Linked DNA regions of Homo sapiens: region 1 is linked to region 2. The links are contacts of gene promoters, found by promoter capture Hi-C in human tissues and cell types (Jung and others, 2019). All regions are on one chromosome and are shown on one strand. The core of a region is centred on a gene start or on the middle of the fragment in contact, and the rest is flanking DNA. Distances in the headings are between cores, read along the strand shown. Region 1 overlaps HELZ (helicase with zinc finger). Region 2 holds the start of PSMD12 (proteasome 26S subunit, non-ATPase 12).

Evidence for each region. Contacts are between HindIII fragments. The study calls those that stand out against the background at their distance.
Region 1: a contact is called between a fragment that was not itself captured here and the fragment with the promoter of PSMD12 in region 2, in 1 of the 25 tissues and cell types used here (hippocampus).

Annotation. Positions count from the first base shown.
Region 1 is chr17:67,134,269-67,137,301 of GRCh38, reverse strand. HELZ (helicase with zinc finger) reads left to right here. Exons shown (of 33, transcript NM_014877.4): 23 at 1,104-1,332. Among named protein-coding and RNA genes, the nearest start is that of CACNG1, 91 kb to the right of the region's middle. The HindIII fragment of the contact is 3,510 bases long and covers 10-3,033 here.
Region 2 is chr17:67,365,306-67,368,582 of GRCh38, reverse strand. PSMD12 (proteasome 26S subunit, non-ATPase 12) reads left to right here and starts at 2,006. Exons shown (of 11, transcript NM_002816.5): 1 at 2,006-2,171. The coding sequence starts at 2,064. RefSeq lists enhancers at 1,801-2,110, 2,131-2,190. The HindIII fragment of the contact is 13,722 bases long and covers 1-3,277 here.

The sequences.
Region 1 (3,033 bases), core at 515-3,014, 230 kb after region 2:
CCCAGAGGAGACTTAGGGTAGTGAATGATCAAGACACTGCCATGAGAAAACTAGGATTGTTTGGCCTGGAGAGGAGAAGACTAAAGATTGACATCAGCATTGTATTGAGATTTGTCATAGGGTGAGGGAATAGATATGTTACTATTTGAAGCACGTAAGAAAAAATGATATACACCTAGACTTTCTGTAGACTTCTTTATGAAATCAGCTGTGCGTGCCCTCGTTGGCCAGAGACTGGATGACTGCTTCAACAAAGGGTCCTTGTATTGGGTGGAACCTGGGACTAGATAATTTTAAGGTTGGTTCCAATAGTATCATTAAAAAAAATTTTTTTATGGTGGTAAAATGCGTATGATGTAAAATTGACCATTTTAACCATTTTTATGCACATAAGTTCTGTGGCATTAAGTTCATTTACGTTATTGTGCAACAGTCATCACCATTCATCTCCAGAACTTTTTTGATCTTTCCAAACTGAAACTCTGTATGCATTAAATGCCCCCATTCCTCCTTCCCTCCTGGCAGTCACCCTTCTACATTCTTTCTCTATGAATTTGACTGTTCTAGCTACCTCATATAAATGGAATTATATAGTATTTGTCCTTTCCTGACTGGTTTATTTCACTTAGCATAATGCCTTCAAGGTTCATCCATGTTGTAAGATGTGTCAGAATTTCATGCCTTTATAAGGCTGAATAATCTATTGTATGTATATGCCACATTCTGTTGATCCATTCCTCTGTCCAGGGATACTCGTGTTGCTTCCACCTTTTGGCTATTGTGAATAATGCTGCTATGAACGTGGATATACAGATATCTGTTTGAGTCACTCCTTTCAGTTCTTTTGAGTATGTATGTAAGCATGGAATTGCTGGATCATATGGTAGTTCTCTGCCTAAATTTTTGAAGAACTGCCACACTGTTTTCCACAGCAGCTGTACCATTGGACATTCTCACCAGCAGTGCATAAGGGTTTCAGTTTCTCCACATCTTCGCCAATGTTTGTTATTTAGCAATAACATTTTAAAAAATGCAATGCTTTTATTATATCAGTGGTTCAGAATGACAATCTTAAGTCTTTTCTTAAAAAATTTTCTTTGTAGGAAAGCAATTCAGAGTTTTGTTTCTTAGCACAGTACGTACAAGACATACTTGTAAACATAAACAGACACCAATTAAAAAGAAAGAGCAACTTCTGGAAGATTCCACAGAGGACTTAGATTATGGTTTTTTATCTAACTACAAGCTTCTCAATACTGCCATCACAAGAGCACAATCCCTGGTTGCTGTGGTGGGTGATCCCATTGCTCTGTGCTCTATTGGAAGATGCAGGTAATTATGTGTTAATGTTGAGACATTAAAGGGGAAATGTGACATGATTTGTATCCCTATGTGTATATTTATTCATATGACCTTCTGGCTAATTAAAAACAGGTTTATTGTAGCCTGATATCCAGTGGGAACACAAAAGCATATTACTTTGGATCTATTTATTGTATGCATAATTGTGTATTCATTGAGCCATTATTCAAGAGATATTTCCTGAGTGACTTCTAGGTTCTAAGCACTCTTCCAGCTTCTGAAGATACATGAGTGAACAAAATAGACAAAGATCTCTGCCCTTGTGGGGCTTACATTTTATTGGTGGGGCTTACTTTTTACTGGTAAGGAGAGGAAGATTACCGTAAACTAAATAGGAATATTATATAGTATTTTACATGGTAAGTTGAATGGAAAGGAAAATATTAAGAGGAATTAGGAATGATGAGGACGGTGCAGACTAGCTTGTGATTGTAAATAGCGTGGTGAGAGCAGACCTCACTGAGAAGCTGACTTGGAAGTGAGGGAGAAGCTATTTGGGTTAAAAGTGCTCCAGGAAGAAGCAACAACTAGAGCAGGGGTCCTGAGCTGGTTTCATGCATGTGTTTGTCTTTGATGGATATTAACTTTTATATCCCTTAGTGCCTCACTTTTTCACTTAATTGTTCTAATTTTTGATGAATTTCCTTCTGTAGTCTTGCTCTCTCAAGGCTTCTCAATGTAGATAATTCTTTGTATCTGGTTAATCCAGAAGATCTTAACATTAGGGGGTTAGACGTGGTCATTACTTGTCTTTCGGTAGCATTATTAGTATTCATTAGACTTTAGTTTTAAGGAACAGTTTCTACTAAATATGGTTAAAATATCAACCTACACACCAAAATCTTTCTTTATACACTTGTGACTTATACCAGTTAATTGGAATTTTAACTGTACAAAGCCAGTAATAGAAGATTTGGCCTTTTGAGTGTTGAAGAACTGTGCTAGCATTAAAAAAAAAAAAAGCAGTCGAACAGTTATTTATAATATTCTTTTGTGAAAAAGAAAGAAATACACTAGGGATTACTTAAAATTTTATAAGTGTGCTAGTACCTGTCATAGGAAGTTCAGAATAGTAAAAAGAGATGTAGGTAGTCCTGAATCTGCCTTGGGTAATTATTTCTTTTTGATATGTTAGAATTAAAGTAGACAAAACTATTAGGACATGGCACTCTTTAAATCAGGTTTTTTTTTCTTACAATATAGATAATGACAGCACTTTATTATCTATTTTTGTGTTCTAGCAGGAAGAAAAATTCTGGGAAGGGAGACTATTTGGGACCTTTAAGAATAAGTTTCATATATTAGAATTTAAGACCCCTCAAAAAGTTAATATCCTTTATAGGGGAAAGCTATCATCAAAGGAATCAAGTAGAGTTTTAATTTATGAAAAAAAAATTTCTTTTTTAAAAAACAAAGCTTGAAGGGTCTGTAACTTATTTATCTGTAAACAATTCTGTTGTAACATCTTTAATTTCATACTTTAAAAATATATTGCCATGCATTTGTAGTCACTAATGACAAATTGGAGAGGGGAGAGTATCTTTTTTTTTTTTTGAGACAGAGTTTCACTCTTGTTGCCCAGGCTGGAATGCAATGGTGCAGTCTCGGCTCACCGCAACCTCTGCCTCTTGGGTTCAAGTGATTCTCCTACCTCAGCCTCCCGAGTAGCTG
Region 2 (3,277 bases), core at 757-3,256:
TTTCTTTGTTTATTTATTTATTTATTTTGAGACAGGGTCTCGTCTGTCACCCAGGTTGGAGTGCAGTGGCGCAATCTTGGCTTACTGCAACCTCCACCTCCCGGGTTCAAGCAATTCTCCTGCCTCAGCCTCCCGAGAAGCTGGGATTACAGGTGCGTGCCATGACGACTGGCTAATTTTTGCATTTTTAGTACAGACGGGGTTTCGCCATGTTGGTCAGGCTGGTCTTGAACTACTGGCCTCAAGTGATCCACCCACCTCAGCATCCCGAAGTGCTGGGATTATAGGCATGAGCCATAAGACCCATCTGATGGACTATAAAATAAAAAAAAAACAATAAGAGCTTTACCAAGAAGTGGCTTGTTGCTCACCATTTTGGAAAATGTCACCAACAATAGGCCCTTACCATGCTTCAGGAACCAAGAGAACACACCTGTTGCAGTTGCAGCTTTTACATTTATAGTTATTGTGTATGGGTGTAAATAACTACTTCCTTGTATTTTCCACTGTAGACATGTTTTAGCCCTTATCTCTTGAAATATATATTATTTTGCTATTTTAAAATTTGTTTCTTGGTTGGGCACAGTGGCTCACACCTGTAATCTCAGCACTTTAGGAGGCCAAGGTGAGAGGACTGCTTGAGGCCAGGTGTTTGAGACCAGCCTGGGCTACGTAGTATAGCTGCTATCTCTACAAAAATAAAAAAAAGGTAAAATTTGTTTCTCCTCTACATTACAGATTATAGCTGAGATATTGTCTTATTTTGCTTGTAGATGGTTTATATTTTCCCTGATTTTCATTGCAGTTAAAACAAACAAAGAGATCTATTCAGCATCTATAAAGCGATGTCGGCACTAATTAAATTGAGAACCACTAACATAATAGATAAACCACTCCAAGATTTCCCGTTTTCCTGTTTGCTTTCCAGGCTGCTGTTGACCATATGCCCACACCAAACACAACCTCATTCCCATTTTCTTTACTTTTCTTTTTCTTTTTTTTTTTTTTTTTTGAGACGGAGTCTTGCTCTGTCGCCCAGGCTGGAGTGCAGTGGCGCAATCTCGCCGGCTCACTGCAAGCTTCGCCTCCTGGGTTCACGCCATTCTCCTGCCTCAGCCTCCCGAGTAGTTGGGACTACAGGTGCCCGCCACCACGCCCGGCTAATTTTTTGTATTTTTAGTAGAGACGGGGTTTCACCGTGTTAGCCACGATGGTCTCGATCTCCTGACCTCATGATCCGCCCGCCTCAGCCTCCCAAAGGGCTGGGATTACAGGCGTGAGCCACCGCGCCCGGCCTCATTCCCATTTTCAAGGATCCTAAGCTTTTTTAAGATCTCAAGCTATTTTCTAGGGACCAGCATGGTATGAATGATAACACATAAAACGTGTAAGGCCCTTAAGAATTGAAATTGTCTCACATGTCATCTAGTTTGATGCTCACGAAAATCCTATAGGGATAACAAATATGTCTTTTTAACTTTTCTTTTTACCAACTTAGTGGATTACAGTGAAAATGAAAACAAAGAGAAAAACCACTTTGCTTATTAAATGACTGAGCTGCTGCCATATCTTCTCTTAGGAGCTTTCAGAGATCCCACAGAGTAAGCCACCAAGATTCTCAAGTAGATAAAACCTTAGAATTTTCTATTTTAAGGTTTATTTTAGCCTCCTGATGTAGAGATGAGAAAACCGAGATCCAAGAAAAGCGACTGGCCACGGTCCTGAGAAATCATATTTCGAAGCAGGGGTGTAGGGATATATGAGATGGTCTGTTCTATTACACTCGCTTTTCTCATCGCAAATTTTAGGTAAAAAGTCTGATGTTCCCAGAGACAAAACCTGACGCTGCAGGCTGGAGTGGCGAGTCCCGCCCCGCGCGCCTCAAGCCCCACCCCCAGGCTGTCCGCGGCAGTGCCTGAGTGGCAACCAGCGCCGGGGACCTCGAGGGGTCCTTTGCGTGGGCTCCCGATGGGCTGCCTGAGCGGGTGCGCGGGCAACTTCCGGTGTGGGTGACGAGTGGTGGCCGAAGCAGGGGGACAGCAAGGGACGCTCAGGCGGGGACCATGGCGGACGGCGGCTCGGAGCGGGCTGACGGGCGCATCGTCAAGATGGAGGTGGACTACAGCGCCACGGTGGATCAGCGCCTACCCGAGTGTGCGAAGCTAGCCAAGGTGAGGAGAGGCCGGCTGGCTGTTGGCGGGCGCCAGGGGCTGAGTCACGGCGCGGAGCCTGCTTAGGCCTCAGGGGGCCTGCGGGCTGGAGCGTGCACCCCCCAATGCCTGTCCAGCCCTAGTTGGGCCTGCACGAGTGGGAGACCCCAGGTCGGCCCGGCCAGGGCTGCGGAGTACGCCAGCGCCTATAGCTTCCCAGACCCTCCCCAAAACAGATGGTCACTTCCCTCCGTGGGACTTAGGGCTCCGTTTAACTTTTTGCCGTTTCTTGGATGCTGTTTAAGTGATATTTACCTTAGTAGTTTCCCAGGGGTTAAGGCCGCTTCAGTATTAAGGCTAGATCAGAGAGTTTCGTTCTGTTGCTGTTGCTCAATCAATTTATGTCGTTACATCGTTTGTGGATCATGGCTATGTGCCTGGTCTTTGGCCAGGAGAAGGGGCAGGAAAGTGATAGTACGAAGATGACTAACACAGGACCCTGTCCTTTAGGAGTTGATGTACGTGATGAATTAGTCAAGTCATGCATGGTGGTGAGGGCCATACAAGGGGAAAGTGTTACTGGAACACCGAGAAGGAAGCTATGCATTCTTAATGGTGCCATAAGGGAAGGTTTTACAGGAAGGCTGACGTTTGTATTGGGTCTTGAGGAATTAGTAAGATTGAGGTGGGGTGGAGTCATTACTGAAGACGGAACTACAGAAGTAAAGACAAGTAGGCACTATAAGAGTTTAACGGGCTTTCCAAGAAACAAGGATGGAGAAAGGTGATAAAGTTGGTACGTATGTATATCTTAGGTTCAGTATGCTTGCTGAGGGGGAGCCACAAATTCATTAAGAGCTTTCTAGCAGCTAGCATCAACAAACATCAGTTACATAAGGGTGGGAAAACTCAGCCGCCTCCAATGCCAGACAGATAACAATAACTGATATTTGTTGAGTAGTTTCTGCAGTGTCAGGCACCGTGCTTACATGCACTAAGCCATTTGATCCTCACCTCAGCCCTATGCGATGGCTATTACTATTATCCTTATTTTACAGGTAAGAAAACTTGGGCTAGAAAAAGTTGAATCACATGCCCCAAGATCATACAGCTAGTAAAGTGGTGAA